Linked DNA regions of Homo sapiens: regions 1, 2, 3 and 4 are each linked to region 5. The links are contacts of gene promoters, found by promoter capture Hi-C in blood cells and fetal thymus (Javierre and others, 2016). All regions are on one chromosome and are shown on one strand. Each heading gives the region's core, a stretch centred on a gene start or on the middle of the fragment in contact. The rest is flanking DNA. Distances are from core to core; before and after follow the strand shown. Region 1 has its middle 170 kb from the start of AFF2. Region 2 overlaps AFF2 (ALF transcription elongation factor 2). Region 3 has its middle 220 kb from the start of AFF2. Region 4 overlaps AFF2 (ALF transcription elongation factor 2). Region 5 holds the start of AFF2 (ALF transcription elongation factor 2).

Region 1 (2,700 bases), core at 25-2,524, 170 kb after region 5:
ACAAATGACAAATATGGAGATAAAACACTAATGATTTTGAACACTGCTCTATAGAAGTATTAGACTAATATGAATCCTTTCTTCATTATGGGTAACAACCTTTAACGATAAAAACACAACATATCTTAGATTTTGTAGAGATTGGTAATGTCCACTGACACTCTGTTTGAAGTCAATATGGTTTTGACAAAGTGAAAAATCCACAGGCTCAGAGGCGGGACCTTCATGTCTAATCTGGATTCCAGCAGTGCTGTGCTATTCTATCACTTGAACAATGGTGGTAATGTGCCACTCTGACTTTCCTCATCTGGCAACGGATCTAATACCACCCGCTCAATTTATCCAGCAGGATTAAATTCAGTTTAATAATCAGAGGGAAAAGAAAAAAGTCTGAAGAATGGCAGCAGGGTGGAGGACAGAGGTATAAAATAATGGGGAGCAAGGAGGAGGTAAAAAGGAGGCAGTTAACGTCAGTGGCATCTCTCCTTAGCCCTCCATGAGAGATACAGGCAGAAGAGAAGCTGACAAAGAAGAAAAGATAAGAAATTTTTTCCACATTGAGGAGGAGGAGAGCAGGGAGAGTCCTCCAAGGGAAGATTTGGCATGTGGATCTGCTTCAAAAGCTGCACAGAGATTATGTGCAGGGGATCCTGATTACTAATCCAATTGGCAATGTACCCTAGGGACAAATTTGTCGTGATTAAATTCCCGTAAAGTTTGATATAAGCTTCAAATCAGCAGAAAAATAATGAGTTTACTTTGTAGGGTACACTAGGAGAAGAGTCAGTAAGAATAGTTTGGGAAGGATTCTGTGTAGTAGGTTAAGGTAGCATCTTTGCTTTCTTGAGGAATCAAATTATAGACATAGGAGAAGTTACAACCTGAAGAAGAAAAGACTGTGACTTATGAAGAAAGTAAGGTTTGGCTTTGAGGTCCGGACCATCAAATCTAATATCGAAAAGAGAGTTTGATTCAGTTCAGGTGAAGAACATTTTTACTTTGAGCATTCACTATGTGCCAGGCCTTGGGCTGCATATCATGCAAAATTTTAGCCATTTGACAAACATTCACTGCATATCCACTAGATATCAGGGCATACAGTTTAGAATGTACTAAACGTTGTACACTGCAAACTCATTGAATCCTTCAGTGCCCCTATGGATTAGGTACTCTTATTACCCATATTTTACACAGCTGAGAAATGTATAAGTTCCAAGACCTATGTCCCTGTCTGAATGACTGACTCCCGGCACTGCGTGCATCCTCTTCACTAGGCTCTCTATCCCACTGCCGTTCTTCACATGACAAAGGGAAGACCACAGACATGTCACAAATGTGGGCAAGGGTGAGATGGGGAACATAAGGAAGAGGCTGAATTTTACCTTGCGGTGGACAAGAAACAAAGAATAAAAACAGAGACAGAAGCTATGGAGGAAAAAGAGGGGCCAGGGAAAGGAATATGGGGTGGGGAAAGGAAGGTTAAGCCTTTCCTCATTCAGTAGCAATGGCTCATCAGATTCTACAGAGGAGGTCAGCAGGGTGGAGGTGGAGCAGGTAGGGGATGGGCACCTCCCAGAATCCATTGGAAAATAAACCAAGATTAAAAGGGCTGAGTAGAGCCAAGAGAGATGGACCCAACTCAAAAAAGAAGAAATAAAGAGGAGTGCTGAGGTAAGAGTAGCCGCTATGGGAGGCAGTGTAGGAGGGGGAAAAATGCAGGAGGGCAAAGGAAACCTGGAAGGATGAATTAAAATCACACTAGTGGCAGAAAGCACATCTCAGAACAGGTAATACAATCATATCAGAACACAGGAAGCTTGAGACACAGCCTGTGGGGCTCTGAGAGCAAAGAAACAGGATGTAATTTTAGTATAAGAAACAAAGCTGAATACAAAGAAGGGCATGTATTATGCAGGAAAGGGCATGGCCTTCAGGCTCTTTGCATTGTTCAACAGGAGGAAGAAGTCACACAGGAGAGGAAGTTTGCTTGTCTCACATCATGTAGGATATTTGAGTCCTGAGCTAGAACATGTAGGTAGAGAGAGGGGTGGAAAAATGAGCCCTCTGTCCTCAGATGTGTATAGAATGCATAAAATGAAATGTTTCTTGGCTGGGGGCAATTTTACTCTTGAAGGGAGAGGTTTTTGTGACTTCCAGAATGGAGGGTAGAGTGACTACTGGCATCTAATGGGTAGAAGGCTTAGATGCTGCTAAACATCTTGCAATGCCCAGGACAATCCTGCATAACAAAGGATTATCTTACCCAGAGTGTCAATGATTGGTCAAGAAACTCTGATAAGTGTTCTTATCTCTATCTGAAGTCCCTATTCCAATAAATAATGGTGATGAGGAGTATCTTAAAATCTTCTAATTAGTGGGTATGCAGTCTCCTTCCATCAAAAATAGTCTCTTCTAGGTTAACTTAGTCCCTTTAGGTAAATGCTGAGTGTTCCAGAGTTTCACCACCCATCCCTACATCCTTTGTTCCCAAGATAGCAACAGAGGTTGGCAAGGAGATCCTTGTGAGAATGCTCATGGCCTCTATAGTAATGTCCTCAGATACTCCACCTTCCTGGCAACCAACAATGAGGTACAGGGCTAATGAAATACCGCTTGTCCTGTCATCTCAATCCAGGCATGATGTTGCTCTCCATCCTGTCTAGTAGGCCCTGCCTTATCCTATGACTGCCCTTGAGGCCC
Region 2 (2,781 bases), core at 225-2,724, 190 kb before region 5:
ATGTCTAAATGAGGTTTAGACTAGATGGTATCTATGGGTCCTTACTGCTACATTCTCTGTGGTTCTATGATTCTATGGTCCACACTGCCAGAGAGCGGGTTGTAACTAACTAGTTAACTGGAAAACAAAAAGCTTTTTGCTCAGTTACTGAGTTATCCTTGACTTGGCATAAAATGATTACACATTCTGACAACTTGAGGCATGCTCTTTCCTGATTATTTGATCACAACAGTCCCTCACTACAAACTGCAGTGAAGGCAAGTAGCCTCTTTTCTCTGTAAGATCTATGATTCTAGACACTTTCTTTCCTCTGACCTGAAAAGTCTGGGTCTGCTGACATCAAGGGCCCATCAGTTCAAACAGGCCTTCCATAAGATGGGCTGTCAGGCCAGGCTGAAAATACCTGAGTCTTTTGGTAACATTTTAATTTTATATTTAAACTGCACAGGAGTCTAGGATTTTATATACAGAAAGAATACTTGAGAGATGGCAGACAATGTCAGTCAGTCAAACACACAGAGAGAATCGGCTATAGATGATTCACATGTTTCTGAATAAGCAAATAACTAATAGATTCCATTCATCAAGAAGGTGAAAATGCAACAAAGCCAGCCAAATACTTTCTGAGTATCCAAGTTTGCCTTAACAGTAGTAAGTCAATTCAGAGAAGCTAAGGGTAAAGTTTTTCAAACATGTTTGCATTCTGATAATAGTCACATTCTAAACAGTTATAATATCATTCACTGGGCACTGAAAGTAAAGGAAAAGCCCTCAGATCTGGCAGTATAGCCAATATTACCAAAAGACATCTGTTCAACTCTGATTTCCTGAACACAGCCTATCATCATTGCTCCTTAAGCAATCAAACCAGTTGAATCCATGAACTAGAAAAAGAGAAACTCATTGCCCAGGAGTGGTCCTGGGGACCACACACACTTAAAACCTGGGACCTTCCCAACCACAGACACTCCAGGAGGCCATTGTGAAAATCCCACTCCAAACATTTCTATTCATATCTCGTAAGACAGGCCTTCAGGACAATCAAGCACTAGTCTGAAAATATCTGAAGGGCAAGTGCAATGGGCTGAGTTTTGTCGCCTCCTTCCAAATTTGTATGTTGAAATCCTAACCCCCACTGCCTCAGAATGTCACTGTTTTGGGACATAAGGCCTTAAGAAAGGTGATAAAGGCAAAACAAGGTAATCAGAGTGGGCCCTAACACAATCTAAATGATGTCCTTACAAGAAGAGATTAGGACACAGACTTGCACAGGAAGATCATGTGAAGACACAGAAAGAAGATGGCAACCTACAAGCCAAGGAGAGGGGGCTCAGAAGAAACCAACACTGTCCACACCTTTGTCTCAGTGTTCTAGCTTCCAGAGCTGGGAGAAAATGTGTTTCTTTTGCTTAAACCACACAGGCTGTAGTACATACTTTGTTATAGCCAACCTAACAAACTAATACAACAAGGAACACTATAGCAAGTACAGTCATTTCAGTCAACAACCAACCACATATGTCATGGTGGCCTCATAAGATTATAATAATGTATTTTTACTGTACCTTTTCAATGTTTAGATATGTTTAGATACACAAATACTTACCATTGTGTTACAGTTGCCTATAGTATTTAGTATAGTCGCTTGCCATACAGGTTTGTAGACTAGGAGCAATAGGATGCCATACAACCTAGGTGTGTGGTATGCTATGCCATCTAGGTTTGTGTAAGTGCACTCCATCATATTTCACAAAATGATAAATTGTCTAATGATGCACTTCTCAGAACGCATCCCTGTTGTTAAGTGATTCATGACTATATTTATTAGGCCCCTACTTAAGTGCTACGTTCTGTGCTAGGTACAAGGGATACAATGATAAATTAATTTCACTATACTCCTTGCCCTCAAGGAGTTTCCAGGCTATTGGGAGAGTAACATATGTAAACAGGCAATCAAAATAGAATGTGAGACGAGTTTCAGTGGCGTAAGGACTACAAAAACTGCAGGAACAGAAAAGAGGAATACCTGCTTTGAGAAGTCTTCCCAAAGGATATCAAGAGTAAACTGAGATTAGCTGGTAAAAGTATGATGGCACACTTCATATAGCTGGAAGGCAGTAAGTTAGAAGAAGCTGGCAAGGGCAGCAAGGGCCAGGTCACAAGGGGATCTCCAGAGGTTTGACTTCTTTCTTTAGGCAATGGGTGGCACTAAGAGATCAGTCTGGCTGCAACGTGGAAAAGGCAGGGGTTCAGCAGTGTGGGGCCAGAGGTAAGAAAACCAGCAGCAGAAATCAGCTGAGTCATGATGCTTACCTGTTGTAAGGTGATGGCCAAAGTGTTGGAACTACAGTTTCAAAGTAAATGAGGAAGGTAGGATTCGGTGATTGATAGGCTATAGAACATGAGGGAGGGGGAGAGATTGTAGGTGATTCCAGGCTTCTGGCATAGATAGTAGCGCCATCAGCTGTTCAGTGTTAATTATTATGAATATGAGGTCCCAATGGGAACATCCAAATAGAGATGTGTACAAGGCAGCTGCATATACATATCTGATGTCTAGTGCATAGTAGCTATCAAATACAGAAAGAAGGGAAAGAGATGGGGATAAGCGGAGAAAGAGGAAAAAGGAATGACTTACCATACATACGTCTAAATTATTTGCCAGCTGGTTTTCTTTAGCAATATTTAAATGTTTAAACATCAATGTGTATTAAACAAAGCGACACACCTCCTGACATCCTTGGTTGTACTACACATACCAAAAAAAAATCCACATTGCAT
Region 3 (2,769 bases), core at 14-2,513, 220 kb after region 5:
AAACAATGAACAATGTTTTATTCATTTCTATAAATCTAGTTACTAAAATACTACCTGACATATAGTAGATACACCATAAACATTTGCGGAATAAGCGAACAAATGAAAAGATTCCTGATATAAAAGAAAACCAATTAAATCAGTCATCTCTAAAGGAGTGGGATCAGATTGATGTTACTCTCCTTATTAAAACTGTAAAGGACAATGTCTTTAAAGTTCTAATGGGAAATAAATTAAAACCTGTAATTTTATTCTAGAAAAAACAATCAACTGAGAGGGCAAAGTAAAGCCATTTTCTGCATTAAAAGACTTGGAAATTTTCATTTTCATTTTTTTTTGGGAAAAACATTCAAGGACGTACTTTTAAAGTGGGAAATAAAAATGTATCCCAGAATGATAGAAGGTAATTGATTCAATCTGGACATGAAGTTAGAGGAATGCTTGAAAAATACCTTTAAGAAGAAAATAAATCTATCCCACAAACTGTATGTGTAAGAACTTTGAGGTTCTTAGTGATGAAATAGTAGCAAGTGCCTCTTCTGTCAGAGACAGGAAAGAAGAAAGGAAGGAAGGAGGGGAGGGGGAGACGGAGGGAAGAAAAGGCAATTAGAAACTCTAGCAAAAAAAAAAAAGCTGCACAAAAGAGCTATGTTTCAAATGATGAAGCAAACTAAATGTGGCATCTTTCTTTAGAAAGTGTATTGCTTAATAAATATTTTTTGAGTGGATACTACATGCTGGACATTGGTCCTAGGTGCTCAGGGGATACATGACTGAACAAAAACAGAAAAAATACTCTGTCATAATGGAGCAAACATTCAGATAGTGGAAGATAAATAATGAACAAATAAAGAAATAAACAAGAAAATTTCAACTTCTAAGTATTATGAAGAAAAAAAAACTGGGTAGGTGGTAGAGCAGGTTATGAGTGACCATTGATGGGGCAGTATCTTCTATTTAAGATTGGGTGATTAGGCAAGGAGGTGATATTTGCACTGAGACCTGAATGACAGCAAAGAGCCAGCCATGGAAAGATCTGAAAACAGAGTATTGCAGGCAGAGGAAACAGCACATTTTAAGGCCTTAATGTAGGAAGAATCATGGTATGGGGCAGAAACAGCAAGGCCACTGTAGCTGAAAGACCACAGATGAGGGACATGAGTGATGGAACACATGATCAGAGAGGTTTGTTTGCGGCTGAATTATGCAGAGCCTTGCAGGCTATGCAAAAGATTTTCTTCTTTCATTCTAAATACAACAGAACCATTGGAGGGTTTTAAGGAGGGGAGGGAAATGATCGGATTCTGCTTTAAAATCATTCTGCTTACCCTCTGGAGAATAGACTGTAGGTATGAGATCAAGAATATAAACAGGGAGACCAGTTAGGTAACTATTTGCTAGACTATGATTCAAGAGACGATAATGGCTTGAATGAGGTTGGTAATATTAGAGGGGTTGAGAATTGATCAATTTAGGATATGTTTTGGAGGAAGAGACAATAGGAGATGTTATTGAAAGTAGAGCAGGGAGTGAAAGACAGGTAGGAATCTGAGATGACTCCCAGGTTTGGGGTTTCAGCAACTGATGGGTAGTGGTGTCTTTTACTAGAAACAGGCAGAGAGATGGTTTTTCAAGCTAGGAAATAATAAGATCTACTACCTGATAGCACAACAGGGTGACTATTGTCAATGCTAATTTAATTGTACATTTTAAAATAAAAGTATAGATTGTAACACAAAGGATAAATACTTGAGGAGATGGATACCCCATTTCACATACACACACATTTACATATATGCTAATTTTAAGTTCAGGGGTACATGCACAGGTTTGTTACATAGGTAAATGTGTGTCATGGGGGTTTGTCGCACAGATTATTTCATCATCGAGGTATTAGGCCTAGTACATATTAGTTTTTCTGATCCACTCCCTCCTCCCACACTCCAACTTCCAATAGGCCCCAGTGTATGTTCTTCCTTTCTCTGTGTCCATGTGTTCTCGTCATTTAGCTCCCGCTTATAAGTGAGAATATGCAATATTTGGTTTTCTGTTCCTGTGTTAGTTTACTAAGCATAATGGCCTCCAGCTTCATCCATGTCCCTGCAAAGGACATGATCCTGTTGTTTTTTATGGCTGCATAGTATGCCACGGCATATGGGTACCACATTTTCTTTATCCAGTCTATCATTGATGGGCATTTAGGTTGACTCCACGTGTTTGCTATTGTGAATAGTGCTGCAGTGAACATACCTGTGTGTGTGTCTTTATAATAGATTTATTTATATTCCTTTGGGTATATACTCAATAATAGGATTGCTGAGTCAAATGGTAGTTCTGCTTTTAGTTCTTTGAGCAATCGCCATACTGCTTTCCACAATGGTAGAACTAATTTACACTCCCCAAAACTGTGTGTAAGTGTTCCCTTTTCTCCACAACCTCACCAGCAGCTGTTATTTTTTGACTTTTTAACACTAGCCATTCTGACTGGTGTGAAACGATATCACATTGTGGTTTGGATTTGCATTTCTCTAATGATAAGTGATGCTAAGCTTTTTTTTTTTATATGACTTAGCCACGTGTATGTCTTCTTTAGAAGTGTTCATGTCCTTTGCCCACTTTTTAATGAGGCTGTTGGTTTTTCTCTTGCAAATTTAAGTTCCTTATAAATGCTGGATATTAGACCTTTGTCAGATGCATAGTTTGCAAAAATGTTCTCCCATTCTGTAGGTTGTCTGTTTACTCTGTTGATAGTTTATTTTTGCAGTGCAG
Region 4 (2,862 bases), core at 145-2,644, 250 kb before region 5:
AAGAAAAACCTCAGTATTTTCCCCAACAATACTCCAAGCCTCTTGTAAATCATATTCATATTCATACACTTAAGCATTAATTTACATACTTAATTTCTGACAGGCTGACAAACACAGCCCTTCTACCCTCTCAGTGTAAAGTGAGAAGTCAATTGTTATTCAGTGTATCCGTTACAGTGGTAGTGCCGCTAACTGTATTTTATATAATGTGCTATCTGCAGAAAGGCAGATAAGAATTTGATTTAACATCCAATTAAAAGCCGTCATTGAAAAATTACTTCAAATAAGCCTTTTATTTTCTTTAATCAGTCTTCAATTCAAACCTTCCTTGGACCTACTGAACCAAGCATCAGGACTCATGAATTTTGATTAAAAAATTTGAGCCCATTTCTAACTTAAGCAGATTTTTTTTTGTTGCACTGTTTGATAGAAATTTAATAAATCTATGATTCCTAGCCAGCATCATTTATCATCTTTTTTTCCGCAAGACTGGCCTATTATACCTAGGCAGTAAATTATGAGGGAACCAGCAAACCAAAACTTTTCAGCCCGTTACTGAAGAAGAGATATAATCACTTGCATTGAACCATATAATTATAGTAGAATATGAAGCTCTGAAACATTAGGTCCTGTTTTGAATATGTAATGCCCAGCTTTTGAGAGTCTAAAAGATTTCGAGTTGATCTAATGTAGCTCAGTTTAGTATGATATTAAAATATTTGTTGTTAATGAAAATAACAGCAGGAAAAAAAATAAAGAGATGTGTAAACAACAAAACAGTCCCAGGCAGATTATTTGGAAAGTGACTCTGGGCTTTGAAAGACGAATCAAAAACCAAAAACTTTCAACTTGGTGCTTTTAAGTTAAATGTCTTATAATAAAGATTCAAATTGTGTTACTTCCATTTACTCTTTTAGCTACAATATTTTTTTTTGCGTGAGTGCTCAAGGTTGTACCTGTATCCTTCATAGAGTTTTAATGGGCATAATATATATTCTTTTGTTCATTCAAAAATTATTTGTCAAGCTCCTTCTAGGGGCCAGGCACCATGTTGAACTTTGAGATACAATGGTGAGCAATATAGGCAAGTCAGCCTAGCGCAAAAGATGATGTTTGAGCAGTGCTCTGAGAGGGGACATGAAGTCAGGATCAAGGGAAGCTTCCTTACAAAAGTGCTATTTAAGCTAGGTCTTGAAGGGTGAATAGGAGTTCATGAGGAGTCTTGGTTACTGCCAACAATAACCTTTATTGATATAAATGTCTCTGGGTGTGTGAGTCAGGAGAGCTTCATGTAGAAATCATGGGGTCATTGAAAATTATTTGTATTTTTCTTAAAGAAATAATCAAATATCTAATGCTTCTCTGTATCTAGGAACCCCGTCCCCAGTCCATCTACCTCTCTGCCACTATGTCAATGACTACACATGCTGAATTTCTTTCCAAAGTGGGCCAGATCATTTTGCATTTCCATGCTTTGGTACAATCTGTTTCTACCTCATTGGTATGTCAATCCCAACTAGTCTCTACCAGTGAATTGGCCCTCAGTCTGCCAGAAAGGAATTGACTAGAGAAAACTTGCCTGATGGCAGTAAGCCCCTCCTTGCATCATCCCTCTATTAGAAAGCTTGGTATCATCACTGCTTATTTACTTATCTGTCTCCTGCCCAGGATAGGAAGTTGCAGGAAACGTAGAATGAGTGAATGAATGAATGAATGGGAGAATTGACAAAATGTTCTTAGCTTCTTACTATGCTGACTTGTATGGTTGTGGTAATTCCTTTCTGGAAGAGAAAACAGTAGCCTAAATCCTTTAGGCAGGGGTTTAATGTGCTCCAACAGATAAATGGCTTTGATCCCTTTAGAAAAACCAACATTCTGATTGATACAATAGAAGTAAGAGGAGGGATTCTGCCTGGCTTTGCAACCTGTGTTTTCTTATTTGTAGCTTTCCAAAACACTCTAGTTACAAAGGAAGGCAAATTATGCTATGAAATATTCATTTTTAAAAGGCTTGAGAGAGAAAAGGTTAGGCTGTAGCTAGGAGAAAACTAAATAGCATCTTACAAACAGGGTCTGATATCCAAAGGAGCAAAATGGAATTTTCAGTGAAAAGCCTGTCAGGGTTTCAAGATTAATTAAGAATATATGTAAGTAGAAGACTATTGCTATTTGTCTGCCTATAGCACTATCACACATTACTAATAAAGTAGCTGTTTCAACTGATATTTCTTCTTTTTGCTTTGGCTACTATTTTTTAATTTATAAGCTACACTGTGCTTGCTTATGCAGGCGTTTTTCCCTTTCAATAATGCACTACGGGCTGGGCGCGGTGGCTCACAACTGTAATCCCAGCACTTAGGAAGGCTGAGGCGGGTGGATCACTTGAGGTCAGGAGTTCAAGACCAGCCTGGCCAACATGGCAAAACCCTGTCTCTACTAAAAATACATAAATTAGCCGGGCGTGGTGGCAGGCACCTGTAGTCCCAGCTACTCGGGAGGCTGAGGTGGGAGAATTGCTTGAACGCAGGAGGCAGAGGTTGCAGTGAACCGAGATCGCACCACTACACCCCAGCGTTGGCGACAGAGTCAGACTCTGTCTAAAAATAATAACAATAATAATAATAATAAAAATGCAGTATGATTGTCAGCTGATGCCTACTTGTTCTTTAGTGGACATGTAATTGTAATAGGCACTGCAGGCTTCAGTATTTAAAGAGACAAGAACAATAATCACATTCATATAAAGGCATAGGCACGGAAAACCTGGGTTAAGTTTCAAGATACTTTTAAAAACATTTGCCAAAATCTTTGTTTCATTTTTAAACCAGTGGACATTTCAAGTAAAATAGAGTCCATATGTTG
Region 5 (2,700 bases), core at 15-2,514:
ACGGCTGCCTCCCAGTGGGAGGCCGAAGGGGGTCCATCCGGTAATTAAATGTGCATTGACATCAGAGCTGCGGATTTGGGGGGCCAACTCCGAAAACCCTCAGTCTTGAAAGCCAAGCGCCGAAGTCGGCCTCGAACCAAGGTCCCCTGAGTGGTGGCCCCCAAAGCCGCTGCTCCACCCGGGAGTGCAGGGAACTTGGGCTGAGTCGGCAGAAGGAAAGGTGTGCGCGCCGCGCAGCGCAGGGATGGAGGTGGCGGCAGCGGGGGCGGTGGCCACCAAGGAAGCAGAGGGCTGCTGGCCGCACCTGGCCGTTGCCTTTCCCCCATGGCCCGCCGCGGGCGTTGGGCACCTGGAAAGTTGAGACATTTCGGGCGGGCGGCATCCGGGGCTCAAGGAGGCCAGACCGGCAAGCCGCTCCGAGAGAAAAGCTCCTGGGAGGTCGTGCGGTTCAGCCCTCGGGCGGCACCGAATTCGATGTGAGCCAAATGCAACTCTTTAGACTTGGAGCGCAAAGCGACGCTTTCGGGTCCGCATCCCTCCCTCTTCCCGCACCTCCCCCCACCCCGGCATCCGACCTAGGAGTCAGCGCGGCCGGGGCCAGAGGTGGCTGAGAGCAAGTGGGAGGGAGTCCGGGGCGCCCCCCACGACAGCTTCAGCTCCTCTTAACAAAGGCGAAAACCTCAGACTTCGCCAGGAGACTCGCTCATCAAAGGAGAAGGCAAAAATCAACACCTACCACTGCTGCTCCAAGTCCCAGTCTCTGAAAAAGTCGAATAGATCCATAGCGGCCAGGCGGCGGCGGCGGGCGGGCGCCTGTCCCTGATCGCAGCGGGTCGGCGCGGCTCTCGGCACAGCTCGCTGGCGGTTCTCGGCGGCCCCCGGCTCTCCAGCCCTCCCGCCCAGCTAAAAGTGTCCGGGCCGCATCGGCAGCAGCAGCGGGCGCTGGAGGTGTCTGGTCCTGTGCTCCGGCGAGGAAGCGGCGGCAGTGGCACTGGGCGGGCAAGCGCCTGGTCGCCCACTCGGGTCCGCTCGGTCCGCGGTAGCCCGCGCACCCAGCGACCCGACGCTGCGGCGGCAGCCGCTGCGGGCTCAGGCGGGCTGGGCCGCCCGCCTGGCTGGCTGCGGGCCGGCGGCGGCAGCGGCGGCGGGGGCGGCCGGGGCAGAGGCAGCGGCGCGGCGCGGCAGCCGGGGCGGCAGCGGCGGCGGCGGCGGCGGCGGCGGCGGCGGCGGCGGCGGCGGCGGCAGCGGCTGCACAGGCGGCGGCGGCGGCCGCGGCAGCATCACACACTTACACACTCACAGGGGGCGGAGCCTGGACAGCTAGAAGCCGCGACATGGAGCAGGCACGTTATCATCCCCGGATCTGGCAGGGGCTCGCCGCGCCCGCCCCTGCCTTTCGGGAACCCTCTCCCACCCCCCACTGTCAAAATCAGCTAGTGGGAGCGGCCACAGAGCTGAGGACCCGGACCCGGACCCGGGACGCAGGGGCCGTGGCAGGGATACAGGAGGTGGGCTGGCGGGACCAGGACGCGGGCTTCGGGAATGGGACCCCTCTCTGAAGCCCAGCCCACCCCCACCACTGGGAATTAGTTTTGAACTAGAAAAGACAGCACAAACAGCCGTGGGGTTGAAGGTCGCCCCCTGCCACCTCAAGCACAGCTCCTTGAGCCCCCGAGTAGTGGAGCAAACTTTGCGGGCCTGAGCATCCCTCAGGTCTGTAGTGCGTAGCACGCGGGTCCAGGAAGGAGAAGGCGGTCACCTTCACCAGCCCCGTGGCTCCACGTGCCCGCACCCAGGCCCTCCAGGCATGCCTTTAGGCGCGCACCTAGTAGGTCAGCGAGCTATAGGCCCTGGATTCAGTGGGCAGCAAGGATAGGAACAAATGACTGCCCTTGCGTGGTCCTTGAGTTCGGGGTTAGGATACTGTTAAACTGGGTTCCACTGTCACTTTCCTCGCACGGTCACCAGGTGCCTTGAGCAAAAGACTTCTGCTAGCTCCTCCTCTGAGAAATGGGAAAACCACTGGGTGTGTGCCCAGTATCCCACGCACCGGCTGCCCGTCTCCCTTCTGGCCTGAAATTCTCTTTCTGCACGTGGAGGGTTTAACCGAGCCTCCTACTCCCTTCAACCTCCACCTCTGATCCAGGAAGGAGTGGATCCCTTTAGCCAATTCCCTGGAGGGAAAGGTTCCCTGGCCTCCGTGCAGAGAAAGGTCTGTGGGAAGGGGCGGGACCGCTTTCTGGCATTTCAGGACATGAGCATTCTGGAGTCCTAGGCATGTAATTTGCCTTCTTCGTGTCGTTATACAGAGGGAATAGTATTGGCACATTTTTCAAATCCTAAGGCTAGAACTCTCTTGGGAAGGACAGCAGACTGAGCCCTGACAGAGCAGGGTGCCGGTAGCTCTGTGTGTGACTCCAAGCAAGTCACTTATCTGGGCCTCAGTTTCTCCATAAAACACCCAGCAGCCCTCTGGCTCATACTTCTCTGACATTCTCCCTTCTATTTGAATATGCTTCTACAGTATTATCTCATATTACCAAAATCATCCAAATACCTTTTAACTTCATTTTTTTCCTGAAGAAACAGAGACCCTAAGACATTAAAATGCTCAAGATCTGATATTTCCCCTAGAGGGGGATCCCAGATTAGAACCTAGAACCTGGGAAGCTCTTCCAGGGCTGGAGCCAGTAGAAGGTG

The links. The method cuts DNA at HindIII sites, captures the fragments that hold promoters and counts their contacts. A CHiCAGO score of 5 or more calls a contact.
Region 1: a contact is called between a fragment that was not itself captured here and the fragment with the promoter of AFF2 in region 5, in 3 of 17 cell types (non-activated CD4 T cells, fetal thymus and naive CD4 T cells). The highest score is 7.1, in non-activated CD4 T cells.
Region 2: a contact is called between a fragment that was not itself captured here and the fragment with the promoter of AFF2 in region 5, in 1 of 17 cell types (neutrophils). The highest score is 5.5, in neutrophils.
Region 3: a contact is called between a fragment that was not itself captured here and the fragment with the promoter of AFF2 in region 5, in 1 of 17 cell types (activated CD4 T cells). The highest score is 6.4, in activated CD4 T cells.
Region 4: a contact is called between a fragment that was not itself captured here and the fragment with the promoter of AFF2 in region 5, in 1 of 17 cell types (neutrophils). The highest score is 6.3, in neutrophils.

What each region holds. Positions count from the first base shown.
Region 1 is chrX:148,333,360-148,336,059 of GRCh38, reverse strand. No RefSeq gene overlaps it. Among named protein-coding and RNA genes, the nearest start is that of AFF2, 170 kb to the left of the region's middle. The HindIII fragment of the contact is 1,089 bases long and covers 730-1,818 here.
Region 2 is chrX:148,687,669-148,690,449 of GRCh38, reverse strand. All of the region lies in intron 3 of AFF2 (ALF transcription elongation factor 2), which reads right to left. Among named protein-coding and RNA genes, the nearest start is that of AFF2, 190 kb to the right of the region's middle. The HindIII fragment of the contact is 2,679 bases long and covers 135-2,781 here.
Region 3 is chrX:148,278,891-148,281,659 of GRCh38, reverse strand. No RefSeq gene overlaps it. Among named protein-coding and RNA genes, the nearest start is that of AFF2, 220 kb to the left of the region's middle. The HindIII fragment of the contact is 2,577 bases long and covers 1-2,551 here.
Region 4 is chrX:148,745,499-148,748,360 of GRCh38, reverse strand. The region is part of intron 3 of AFF2 (ALF transcription elongation factor 2); the gene reads right to left. Among named protein-coding and RNA genes, the nearest start is that of AFF2, 250 kb to the right of the region's middle. The HindIII fragment of the contact is 465 bases long and covers 1,162-1,626 here.
Region 5 is chrX:148,499,181-148,501,880 of GRCh38, reverse strand. It overlaps AFF2 (ALF transcription elongation factor 2), which reads right to left and starts at 1,264. Exons shown (of 21, transcript NM_002025.4): 1 at 737-1,264. The coding sequence starts at 783. RefSeq lists an enhancer at 1-604. The HindIII fragment of the contact is 5,176 bases long and covers 1-2,700 here.